2 separate regions of the Homo sapiens genome follow, and region 1 is linked to region 2. The links are contacts of gene promoters, found by promoter capture Hi-C in blood cells and fetal thymus (Javierre and others, 2016). All regions are on one chromosome and are shown on one strand. Each heading gives the region's core, a stretch centred on a gene start or on the middle of the fragment in contact. The rest is flanking DNA. Distances are from core to core; before and after follow the strand shown.

The links. The method cuts DNA at HindIII sites, captures the fragments that hold promoters and counts their contacts. A CHiCAGO score of 5 or more calls a contact.
Region 1: a contact is called between a fragment that was not itself captured here and the fragment with the promoter of ZNF649 in region 2, in 1 of 17 cell types (non-activated CD4 T cells). The highest score is 8.1, in non-activated CD4 T cells.

The regions. Positions count from the first base shown.
Region 1 is chr19:36,870,835-36,877,043 of GRCh38, reverse strand. It overlaps ZNF345 (zinc finger protein 345), which reads right to left. Exons shown (of 3, transcript NM_001242472.2): 3 at 1-259. The coding sequence starts at 213. Among named protein-coding and RNA genes, the nearest start is that of ZNF345, 23 kb to the right of the region's middle. The HindIII fragment of the contact is 1,351 bases long and covers 575-1,925 here.
Region 2 is chr19:51,901,650-51,907,943 of GRCh38, reverse strand. It overlaps ZNF649 (zinc finger protein 649), which reads left to right and starts at 2,927. Exons shown (of 5, transcript NM_023074.4): 1 at 2,927-3,030. RefSeq lists enhancers at 1-101, 102-777, 1,661-2,285, 2,776-2,895, 2,614-3,158 and 1 more and a silencer at 6,145-6,294. The HindIII fragment of the contact is 3,228 bases long and covers 1,576-4,803 here.

The DNA of each region.
Region 1 (6,209 bases), core at 1-2,500, about 15 Mb after region 2:
AAAATCCTTCCCACATTCCTTACATTCAAGGAGTTTCTCATCAGTATGAATTCTCTGATGCTGGATACTGAAAGTGGGCATGTCTTCAGGAGTAAATATCATTTCACTGAAATGTCCTTCCTGAGATCCCTGTTTTCTCTCAAACTGGTTTTTACATTCCCAATCACCTCTGAAACTTGAACACTCAATGCTGTGTTTTGTAAGGTTTTCCATATCCTTTTTCAGAAATAATTTCTTGGTCTCAACTTTGATTCATAGTCTGAAAGAAAATATAAAAGCAAACATTCACTTTTTTGTGTTCTGGGAGAGATTAAACGTTTATAATAGATACGAAAGACTTAACTACAATTTAATTTTCATAAAAATTGAGTGGTTTATACAGTTCTCACATATGACTGGGCAATTTGAAAAACAGATTAGGGAAGCAGAGAAAATGAGTAAAAGTCAGACTAGAAAGTGGAGGAGGTTTTCAGGAAACAGATTATTTTTAAATAGTAGTTTAGATATTTATTTAAAATAGTAGTTTTAAATAGTAGTTTAGTTTAGTTTAAAAGTCCTGCAGACTTTGAAAGCTTGGTAATTATACAGATGTCCTGGCCCTGTCTTAATTTTTTAAGAGATGAATCTAGTGCTATAAACATTTATAAATGAGAGTAATTCTCATATTCATTTATCAGGGTTGTTGGGAGTACTACATTTTTCCTGGGGTGGGAAATCTGGGATGTTTCAGTAATAAACATAATTTGCATATAAACTGATGGAGACAGAAAAGAAAGATAATCCACAAAGAGCAGTTTCCCAATGAAAGACTAATGTGCTAAATGAGTATGGAATGAGCTATGGAGAGGGAAGATTCATCTGTGGTTAGAATGTGGTTTGTTTATGCCATTTAAGAAATAAGTTTGCCTCCAAATTCTATGATGATAACATTGAGAGAAGATGGAGCTCAGTAAGGGCTACAGCAGAGGAACAGAATCTGGTTTTAACATAAGAGGAAAGGGAAGACAAGACAGGAGGCAATGTGATACTACTAGAAGACTGCAAGAAAGATGAAGATATATAAATATCCTGAACCTCATCTTTGATGATTATGGAATGATTCTGATCACACCAAATCTACTTACATACTTGCATAAAGTAACTATGCAGTGCTTATTATTTTGGGAGACTTATTTGCCTCAAAAGTAGAGGCTAGGAAAGGGAATGGATTTAAAGATACTATCTAAGGCCCTGAGTGAATACCTCAAATCCCAAAAAGTGAAAACATTCGGCACCAATCTCTTTCTACAACTTACATAACAATCCTGTTTAGAGCAGGTCTAAATATGTCTTGAAATTGTTCTTTCAGTCTCCAACTGGCTAATCCAAATCAAAATTATCTTTTGCTTGGACACTAAACCAGCATTTCTTCTACCTGCCTGCATTTCCAGTTTTGCACCCTTAGCACCCAGAGTGATATTTAGCCTGGAACTGTTCTGCTCAAAATGAACTCGCTCTTAAAAGTTCCTCAGTGATCTGCCTGTCTCTTCAACCTAATATCCCTCCCTGCACCCCCCACCCAACAATAAGCTGTAGCTACTATGTAGTCTTCATAGTTCTTCAAATGCACAAAACTGTACCGACCCATCCCCATCATGGTTTCATCTGCCTGAAATGTCCCCCTATATCCACTGCCCCTACTCTTGGCCTTGCAAGTTTCTGGCAGTGGTTTAGGTCTCTGCTAAATGATGTATCTTTAAAATATTTCCTACATGTTCAGTCTGAATTATGCACACTCTACTATCATTTCTCAGAGCTCTTTTTTCCTCTTTTCTTTGTGTTTTGTTTTGATAATAGGTAATTTACGTATCCATTCCCTACAGTTAAATTTTTCATATTTGTTTGAATGCTTGTTTAACCTCTGTCTGCTACAATAGAGCCAAGCTTCATGAAGACAAAGATAATATCTATTAATTTAATCAACTTGAACTCTGGTACATGCAAAAAAAACCTAAATGCATTTATTGAATAATATAATAAATTATTTGCAAAATGTATTATCCTTACAAATAAACATCTAAAAACTAGATTTCTCTAGCCATACAACATAATTTCTCTGAAAAAGCTCAAGTGGATCACGTGCATTTATCCCCGTACGCTTTCCAAAACCTCACTAAAAGGAATGAAAAGGAATTTGTAAAACAGAACAAAACCACCACATAAAAGGAAATTAAAGAGGAAGCTGCAGCAACAAAACATTTTCAGCTTATTTATTTATTTATTTTGAGATGGAGTTTCGCTCTTGTTGCCTAAGCTGGAGTGCAATGGCATGATCTCAGATCGCTGCAACCTCCGCCTCCCGGGTTCAAGTGATTCTCCTGCCTCAGCCTCCTCAGTACCTGGGATTACAGGCATGTGCCACCACGCCTGGCTAATTTTGTATTTTTAGTAATACAGGGTTTCTCTATGTTGGTCAGGCTGGTCTTGAACTCCCGACCTCAGCCTCCCAAAGTGCTAGGATTACAGGCATGAGTCACCAGGCCTGGCACCCCACCCCCCTTTTTTTTTTTTTAGTGGAGTTTCACTCGTGTCACCCAGACTGGAGTGCAATGGCACAATCTCAGCTCACTGCAACCTCTGCCTCCCAGGTTCAAGTGGTCCTCCTGCCTCAGCCTCCCAAACAGCTGGGATTGCAGGTGCCCACCACCACACCTGGCTGATTTTTGTATTTTCAGTAGAGGTGGGGTTTCACCATATTGGCCAGGCTGGTCTCGAACTCTTGACCTCAAGTGATCCACCTGCCTTGGCCTCCCAAAGTGCTGGGATAACAGGCATGAGCCACCATGCCCAGCCAACATTTTAAGTTGAAAGTGTAAGATAAACAATGACCAATCAAAAAAGATATAATCTTAACTAAAAGTAAGGAAAGCCCACACATAGTTACACTTTTTGTGTATAAAAAAGTGTACGGTTTATGCTGCAGAACCCCAGAAAAACTTAAGAAGTGGAGGGAACTAAGTACCCATAAAAGTCTAACAATCAACATACAAAATATATAGCATACAGCTTCTTAGGGCCCACTCTAAATTACAAATAGATCACTACCTCATGAAGATATGTGCACTCACATGTTCAAAGCAGTATTATTCACAATAGCCAAGACATGAAAATAACCTATGTGCCCACTGATGGATGAACAGATGAAGAAATTGTGATATATATAAATGAATATTATTCACCATTGAAAAGAAAGAGATCCTGCCATTTGACAAAACAGACATGAAACTGGAGGACGTTATGCTACGTGAAATAAGGGAGACGAAGAGAAATACTGCATGATCTCACTTATATGTAGAATGTAAAAAAAAAAAAAAAGTACAGAAATAGCATACAGAATGGTAGTTACCAGGGACTGTCAGGGAGAAAATGGGGAGATGCAGGTCAAAGGATACAAAGTTTCAGACATGTAGAATGAATAAGTCTAGAGATCCAATGTACAACATGAGGACTATAGTTAATGACATTGTATTGTATTTGAGATTTTTGATGAGAGTAGATTTTTAGGTGCTCTTGCCACACACACACAAAAAGTGTAACTATGTGAGATGATGAACATGTTAATTTGCTTGACTACAGTCACCATTTCATAATATGTATCAAAACCTCATGTTGTATATCTTAAATATATACAAAAACAACAGAAACAAAAAATAGGCAAATATTAGATATTTGAGAAAAGCCTGTAAGATAAAAGACAGTAAACAAAGCAACCAAAGCAACTCAGAAGACAGACTATATAGGAGAACAAAGAAAACCTCAAAAGTCACAACGTATATTCTCATAAGGATATGAGAAGCTACTCCACATGATACAAGAATAGAATAATATGAAAGAAATATTAAGTGAAAAAAGTATTCATAGAAAATGAAAATATAAAGTTGGAATAAAAACAAATCATTCAAAAGTAAATAATAAAATATCTTTAAAACCCATACAAAAAAGATACAGAAATGGAAAATAGGAAAATATGGGAGATCAAGCAACAAAGTCCAACGTCTACTGAGAAGAAATCATTTTTAGAAGTTTGCTAAGAATCTACAAAGTGTGCTAGAAGAAACGGAGGAACCTGAAAATCACCATTTAAAAATCGTCAATAGGATAAAAGATTCAGGATCCTCAATGGATTCTAAAGCTGGATAATGAATTGTGCTGCGGAAAAGGATATTCACTTGATCTCACAGTATCACTCTACAGATTATTTATTAATTATAAAGGGAAAAATATATACCTGTTTAATAGAAAGATTTGGTACTCACCACCTTAATCTTAAGTGGTAAAACTTGATGCCTTAGTCTACTTGTGTTGCTATGAAGACATATCTAAGAGTGGGTAACTTATAAAGAAAAGAGGTTTATTTGGCTCACAGTTCTGCAGGCTGTACAAGATGCATGGCACCAACAGCTTCTTCTGATGAAGGTTTCAGGCTGCTTCCACTAGCAGAAGGTGAAGAGGAGCTGGGATGTGCAGAGATTATGTGGAGAGAGAGGAAGCAAAAGAGAGGGTCGAGAGAGGTGCTAGGTTCTTTTTAACAACCAGCTCTTTTGGGAAGTAATAAGAGCAAGAACTCACTCACCCACTGCCCCCCAGGGAGGGCATTAATCTGTTCATCAGGGATCCATCCCCATAACTGAAACACCTGCCATTAGGCCCCACCTCCAACAATGGGGGGAAAATTTCAACATAAGATTCGGAGGGGACAAACATCCATACAGCACTTGGCATCAACAGTAGTAGAGCAACCTGACAATATGTTCCTCCCAATGTAATACAATAAAAGATGTACCATCATACCACCTATGTGGTATGCTTGCCAAATATATTTAACCTGAATCTAAGCTTCCTATACATGAGAAAGCCATGAGACAAATAAAGGTTATGTGACATTCTATAAAATAATTGTCCTGGATTCTCAAAAAAATTCAATGTCATATAAAACAGGGCCGGGCATGGTGACTCATGCCTGTAATCCCAGCACTTTGGGAGGCCAAGTTGGGCAGATCACCTGAGGTCGGGAATTTGAGACCAGCCTGACCAACATGGAGAAACCCCGTCTCTACTAAAAATACAAAATTAGCCGGGTGCAGTGGCACATGCCTGTAATCCCAGCTACTAGGGAGGCTGAGGCAGGAGAATCGCTTGTACCCAGGAGGCGGAGGTTGTGGTAAGACAAGATCGTACCATTGCACTCCAGCCTGGGCAACAAGAGTGAAACTCCATCTCAAAAAAACCAAAAAAATTCAAAGTCATATAAAACAAAAAATGAGAGACTGCTCCAGATTAAAAGAGACTAAAGAGATCCAATGACCAAATCAATATATAAATCTTGACTGGATCCTAGATCAGGCAAACACATACCCAAGTAAAACAAACAAACAAACACAATAGCAGCTAAATAAAGAGAGCTTGAAGACTACTGGAGCTGTCTAAATATAAAATGCTTAAGAATATTATTAAGTCTATTTTAATTTCCTTAGGTTGGAGATATATCATTAATACTAAGGAGATATATGTTAAAATTATTAATGGTAAAATGTGAAGATGTCCCCAACATATTTTCAAATGACTCACAAAAAAAAGTGTATGTGTGTGTATTAATAAAGATAAAGGAAATGTGGCAAAATGGCAACAACTGAAGAATTTGGGTGATGGATGATAGAGTCTGAATGTTTGTGTCCTCCCAACCCCCAAATGAAATGTTGAACTTTAGTTATCAATGTAATGGGGTAAGGAGGTGGGGCCTTTGGGAGGTGATTAGGTCATGAGGGCAGAGCCCTCATGAATGTAATTAATGTCCTTAAAAAAGAGTACCCAGAGGACTGCCTTTCCCTTTTTACTATGTGAGGACAAAGAGAGAAGGTGCCAACTATGAAGCAGAAAGCAGGTCCTTACCAGACACTGAATCTGCCAACATCTTGATCATGTACTTTCCAGCCTCCACAACTGTGAGAAATAAGTTTCTTTTGTTTATAAGATAACTAGTTTATGGTACTTTGTTACAGTGGCCCAAACAGAGGAAGAAAATGGGTATTCAGAATTCACTGGAATAATCTTTTTTTCTCTATGTTTGAAATTTTTCAAAGAAAACAGAAAATACAGATTGTTCTAAAAAGTAGCATTAAGGGCAACTTCCCAGACCTGAAAGAAATGAGTCTCCATATTTAATGGGTCCA
Region 2 (6,294 bases), core at 1,678-4,177:
CTTTCTCAAGGCATATTCTCTGTTGTAGGGACACCTGAAATTCCTTTAAGATGGCCATGCTCAGTGGGCTGCCTCTTGACAGTTTCCTAGTAGTCAGTCAATAAAGGGTGCAGTCACCTCTCCGCAGCTCACTGAGGTGGACATACTTGGCACTGTGCTGGCCTTGTATCGGGGGACCTGCCCCAATAATCACGTAGGTTCTTTTCTATTTGCCTAAGCGTCGACTGGCTTGAGAAATAAAAGGACAGAGTACAAAAGAGAGAAATTTTAAAGCTGGGCCTCCGGGGGAGACATCACACATTGGTAGGATCTGTGATGCCCCACAAGCCACAAAAACCAGCAAGTTTTTATTAGGGAGTTTCAAAAGGGGAGGGAGGATACGAATAGGTGTGGGTGACAGACATCAAGTACTTAACAGGGTAATAGAATATCACAAGGCAAGTGGAGGCAGGGCGAGATCACAGGACCACAGGACCGAAGTGAAATTAAAATTGCTAATGAAGTTTTGGGCACCATTGTCATTGATAACATCTTATCAGGAGACAGGGTTTTGAGATCAACCGGTCTGACCAAAGTTTATTAGGCGGGAATTTCCTCTTCCTAACAAGCCTGGGAGCGCTATGGGAGACTGGAGTTTATTTCACCTCTGCAATCTCGACCATAAGAGACAGGTACGCCCGGGGGAGGCCAGTTCAGAGACCTACCCCTAGGTGCGCATTCTGTTTCTCAGGGACGTTCCATGCTGAGAAAAGGAATTCAGTGATATTTCTCCCATTTGCTTTTGAAAGAAGACAAATATGGCTCTGTTCCGCCCGGCTCACCGGCGGTCAGAGTTAAAGGTTCTCTCTCTTATTCCCTGAACAATTGCTGTTATCCTGTTCTTTTTTCAGGGTGCCCACATTTCATATTGCTCAAACACACATGCTGTACAATTTGTGTAGTTAACACAATTATTACAGGGTCCTGAGACGATATACATCCTTCTCGGCTGACAGGATTAAGAGATTAAAGCAAAGACAGGCATAGGAAATCACAAGGATATTGATTGGGGAAGTGATAAGTGTCCATGAAATCTTTACGATTTATGTTTACAGATTGCAGTAAAGACAGGCATAAGAAATTACAAAAGTATTAATTTGGGGAACTAATAAATGTCCATAAAATCTTCACAATCCATGTTTTTCTGCCATGGCTTCAGCCGGTCCCTCCGTTTGGGGTCCCTGACTTCCCGCAACAGCCTTGGTTGCATTTGAGCCTCTGAATATCTGTGTGGTTTGTGCAGTGAAGGGGTGGCCTGCCTCTCCACATCTGTGGGTGTTTCTCGTCAGGTGGGACGAGAGACTGAGAAAAGAAGAGATACAGAGACAAAGTATAGAGAAAGAAAAGTGGGTCCAGGGGACCGGTGCTCAGCATACAGAGGACCCGCGCCGGCACCGGTCTCTGAGTCCCTCAGTATTTATTGATCATTATCTCTACCATCTCGGAGAGGGGGATGTGGCAGGACAATAGGATAATAGTGGGGAGAGTGTCAGCAGGAAAACATGTGAACAAATGTCTCTGTGTCATAAACAAGCTTAAGAAGAAGGTGCTGTGCTTTGATATGCACATACATAAACGTCTCGGTGCATTAAAGAGCAGTATTGCCGCCAGCTTGTCTCACCTCCAGCCCTAAGGCGATTTTCTCCTATCTCAGTAGATGGAACATACAATCGGGTTTTATACCGAGACATTCCATTGCCCAGGGACGAGCAGGAGACAGATGCCTTCCTCTTGTCTCAACTGCAAGAGGCCTTCCTTCCTCTTATACTAATCCTCCTCAGCACAGACCCTTTACGGGTGTCGGGCTGAGGGATGGTCAGGTCTTTCCCTTCCCACGAGGCCATATTTCAGACTATCACATGGGGAGAAACCTTGGATAATACCTGGCTTTCTGGGGCAGAGGTCCCTGTGGCCTTCCGCAGTGTATTGTGTCCCTGGGTACTTGAGATTAGAGAGTGGTGATGACTTTTAACAAGCATACTGCCTTCAAGCATTTGTTTAACAAAGCACATCCTGCATAGCCCTAAATCCATTAAACCTTGAGTCAACACAGCACACGTCTCTGTGAGAACAGGGTTGGGGGTAGGGTTACAGATTAACAGCATCTCAAGGCAGAAGAATTTTTCTTAGTACGGAACAAAATGGAGTCTCTTATGTCTACTTCTTTCTACATAGACACAGTAACAGTCTGATCTCTCTTTCTTTTCCCCACAGTGCACTGTTGTTAGTGCTCCAACCTCACAGTGCAGGGGTTGAGGTGTCAGGAGAGGGAACACATCAGTGCCATTTCACTGTCTCCTGTGTCAAAGCAAAATTAAAATGCAGACCAGAATTCAAAAACTCCTGAGCAAACAAAACCCAGTAGGCCTTAAAAACAGCCTTAACCTTGCTTAACCTGCAAACATAAGCAACAATTCACTTGAGTCATTTCTGGTAAATGCTTGTGTTAGGGAAGGACAAAACTCAATCTCAACCGATCAAAAGTAGGCAACTCACATGCTATTATGTCATTAGGGACTTTCCAAGGCAAATTTAAAAAAATGCATTTTTATAATTGTAACTAATCAAATAATTTCTTTGTTTTACTCCTTCACTCACCCTGTGAATACTTGTGTCTAATGCTTTAAGCATAGAAGCGCGAGACTTCTTTTGGTTTGATGCTTCCTAATTCATGAATTGCTGTTTGTTCAGATAAACTCTAGAAAATGCTCCTGCGCCTCAAATTTTTGCTTTCAGGAGAGTCATCCCGGTTTAATGACACAAGAACAACTGTTTCCCTTCTGTACGGCAGATCTACCAAGATGGCCGCGCCCAGAGAGCCGTGGCTCAGGGCGCGGACATGTTACCTCCTCGAAGAGAAGCCCATGTCCCATCGTCCTAGCGCGGCAGAATTGACTCGCGCCCTCGTCCGCCGCCATAGGCCAGTGCCGGGGTTTAAGGGCCAGGAAAGGAAGCATTCAGGGAATTTAGGTGTAGCCAGAAGAAAATCAGGTGAGTGTTTGGGTCTCTCCGTGGAGTAGGTTAAAGGGGTAGGGAGCTTCTGAGGAGCCTGTGGGGAGAGCTGGCGGCCTGGGCGGTGGAGCCTTTGGGTTGGGGTGCCTTTGCGGTCCGGCGTGGGAGAGTTCTTGTGGTCGGGCGTTAAAGGTCTGTCGAGTTCAGCGACTGAGACTCGGCGTCAGAGTTTGGGGTCTCTGAGGGTCACTCTGTTAGTAGGCCTCTGGATCACTGGATGGAGAACTCTAGGGGGACGCTGCCCAGCACGCCGGCTTTATCACCGACGCCATTATTATCACTCCAAATGCTGCAGTTTAAAGTCGGTGATGAAGCCGGGGTGCTGGGCAGCGTACGAGGGTGTGTGGTGTAGGTTTTGGGGTGAATCGGGGATGTGTGTTAAGTGTTTCGGGGAGGCCCAGGCATGTGGGGCTCAGAGGCTTGTAAAATCTGGTATTTTACAAGCCCAGGCCCCTGGCTGGGGTTGAGTTGTGAAACTATAACCGCCCACCCTTGCCGGCTGCCTAGACAGAGCCGACTTGTTAAGACAGGGAAATTGCAATGGAGAAAGAGCAATTCATGCAGAGCCGGCTGTGCGGGGAGACCGGAGTTTTATTATTACTCAAATCAGTGATAAAAGAAAAATTGAAGCCGAATTAAATTTACAGGAGTTTCCTTGAGCAATGAACGATTCGCGAATTGGGCAGCCCCCAGAATCACAGCAGATTAACAGAGACTCCAGGGGTGCCTCGTGGTCAGAACAAATTTATAGACAAAAAAGGTAAAGTGACATACAGGAATCGGAAGCGAGGTCCAGAAACAGTGAGATTGGTTACCATTCGGCGTTTGCCTTATTTGAACGCAGTTGGAACATTCAGCAGTCTATGAGTATGGCCGCTGGGACTGGCCACCACTCAGCTATTGTTACAGGTGCATACGATTAAGTTCGGTTTTCAATTTTGTCTGTTAAGCTAGGTTGCAGTTTATCCACAAGGACTCAAATATAGAAGTATGGAGTCGTTCTCAGGCAATATTTAGTTTGCTTAAGCATCAGTCTCCTTGAGCATTTGGGGATCAAAGTTTCCTCCTATCCCCCAGACGGAATCTAGCTCTGTTGTCCAGTCTGGAGTGCAGTGGTGCGATCTCAGCTCACTGCAACCTCCGCCTCCTGGGTTCTAGCGACTGTCCTGCCTCAGCCTCCCGAGTGGCTGGGATTACAGGCGCCCGCCACCACGCCCGGCTAATTTTTGTATTTTTAGTAGAGACAGGCTTTCACCACGTTGGCCAGGCTGGTCTTGAACTCCTGACCTCAGGTGATCTGCCCGCCTCGGCCTTCCAAAGTGCTGGGATTATAGGCATGAGCCATCGCGCCTAGCTATGATTGTTACGATTTATAAGAAATGTATAATCGATCTTTGTCCTGTTTCCTGGCACATGTCTCCCAAAAGCCTTGGAACCTCTTCAGTAAACAGTGCCTTTTTGTGTGGCATTGAGATGGCTGGTGACTGGGGGCTTCTGGCTGGCCTTAGGACGGGGGAGGCTGGTTGCCAGGGCAACTAACCATGTCATTTGAGGGTTGGAAATTTTAGCTCTGCCTGGCAACAGGGAAGTTGAAGGTTGAGTTGATCACCAGTGGTTAGTGTTTTAATCAAGTATGCCCACATAATGAAACCAGCGTAAAAACTCAAAAGGACTGGTGAACTTCTGGGGAACTTACAGATTCTTGAGCATGTGGAGGTGCCTGAGGGTGGTGAACTGAGTCTCTAATAAGCTTCCGTGGAGGGCATGGAAGTCCCACGCCCCTTGCTACAAACCTTGCTCTGTGCTATCCCTTCCATCTGCCTCTTCATCTGTATCCTTCGTAATATCCTTTATTCCTTTTCCCATTTGCCCTGAGAATACTCACCTTTGGTGCTTGCAGCTGGAGCATTTACCCCGAGATAACTTTGCCATGAACGATCTCACTTTTATTATTTTCACATCGCTCTAGTAGGTCGCCTTGGGAAACAAAAGACATCATTCTACTTATAGCATTCTGTTTTTAGTAGTGGTATTTCCATTTACAAAATGTAGTAGTTCTCGATCACTGAAAATGTCAAATCCTAGAAAACGTAGCATTCCTACATGTGATGTTAACATCATTCTCAAACAGTTCTTGGCTGAAGACTCACTGGATGGATCCGATTTTTACCAAATCGAGAATTCTGATGATTCCAAATCGAGAATTCTGATGATTCAGATGATTCTGATGTTAGTTCTGTTTAGAAATAACTCCTAGAACAGCTTTTATATTTTATTTTCACATTGAAAATCAGATTTACTGCAGCCTCAAAGAGCATGTTTATGTAAAATGAAATAAGCGCTGGCAGTGAGCTGCACTTCGTTTTTCTAGACAGGAAAAGAGTTGAAATAAACCAGTAAATGTTAAGTGCTTTCCTGAGTTCTGTGAGCCATCCAGCAAATTAATCGAACCTGAGGAGGAGGCCGTGTGAATCCTGATTTATAGCTGGTCCATCAGAGGTACAGGTGACAACCTGCTGCTTGCAACTTGCGTCTGAAGTTGGGGGCAGGCTTGAACTGAGCCCTTAATCTGTGGTGTCTGACACTATATCTAGATACACAGTCTCAGACTGAATTAAATTATAGGATGCTGTCTTAGCCTTGTTGGTGCTGCTATAACAAGATAGCTGAGACTGGATAATTTATAAACAACAGAAATTTATTTGTTATAGTTCTGGAGACTGAGAAGTCTAAGATCGAAGCACCAGCAGGTTTGGTGTCTGGTGAGGGCCTGATTTCTGCTTTCAATATGGTGTTTTGTCGCTATTTCTTTGGAGGTGAAGAATGCGGTGCCCTCACATGGCAGAAGGCAGAAGAGCAGAAAGGGCCGATCTGTGTGTGAAGCCTCTTTTATTTTTATTATTATTTCTTCTTTCTTTAGGTTTTTTTTTTTTTTTTTTTTTGATACAGAGTCTCACTTTGTCACCCAGCCTGCAGTGCAGTGGCACCATCCTAACTCACTGCAGTCTCAACCTCTCAACCTCCCAGGCTCAAGCAGTCCTCCTGCCGCAGCCATCTGAGTAGCTGGGAATACAGGCATGTGCCACCATGCTTGAATAATTTTTGTATGTTTTATAGAGATGGGGTTTCACCATGTTGCCAAGTCCTGAGCTCAAGTGATCTGCCCACCTTGGCCTCCCAAAGTACTGGGATTACAGGTGTGAGCCAACACGCTCGGCCTTTATTTTTTTTTATTTTTTTATT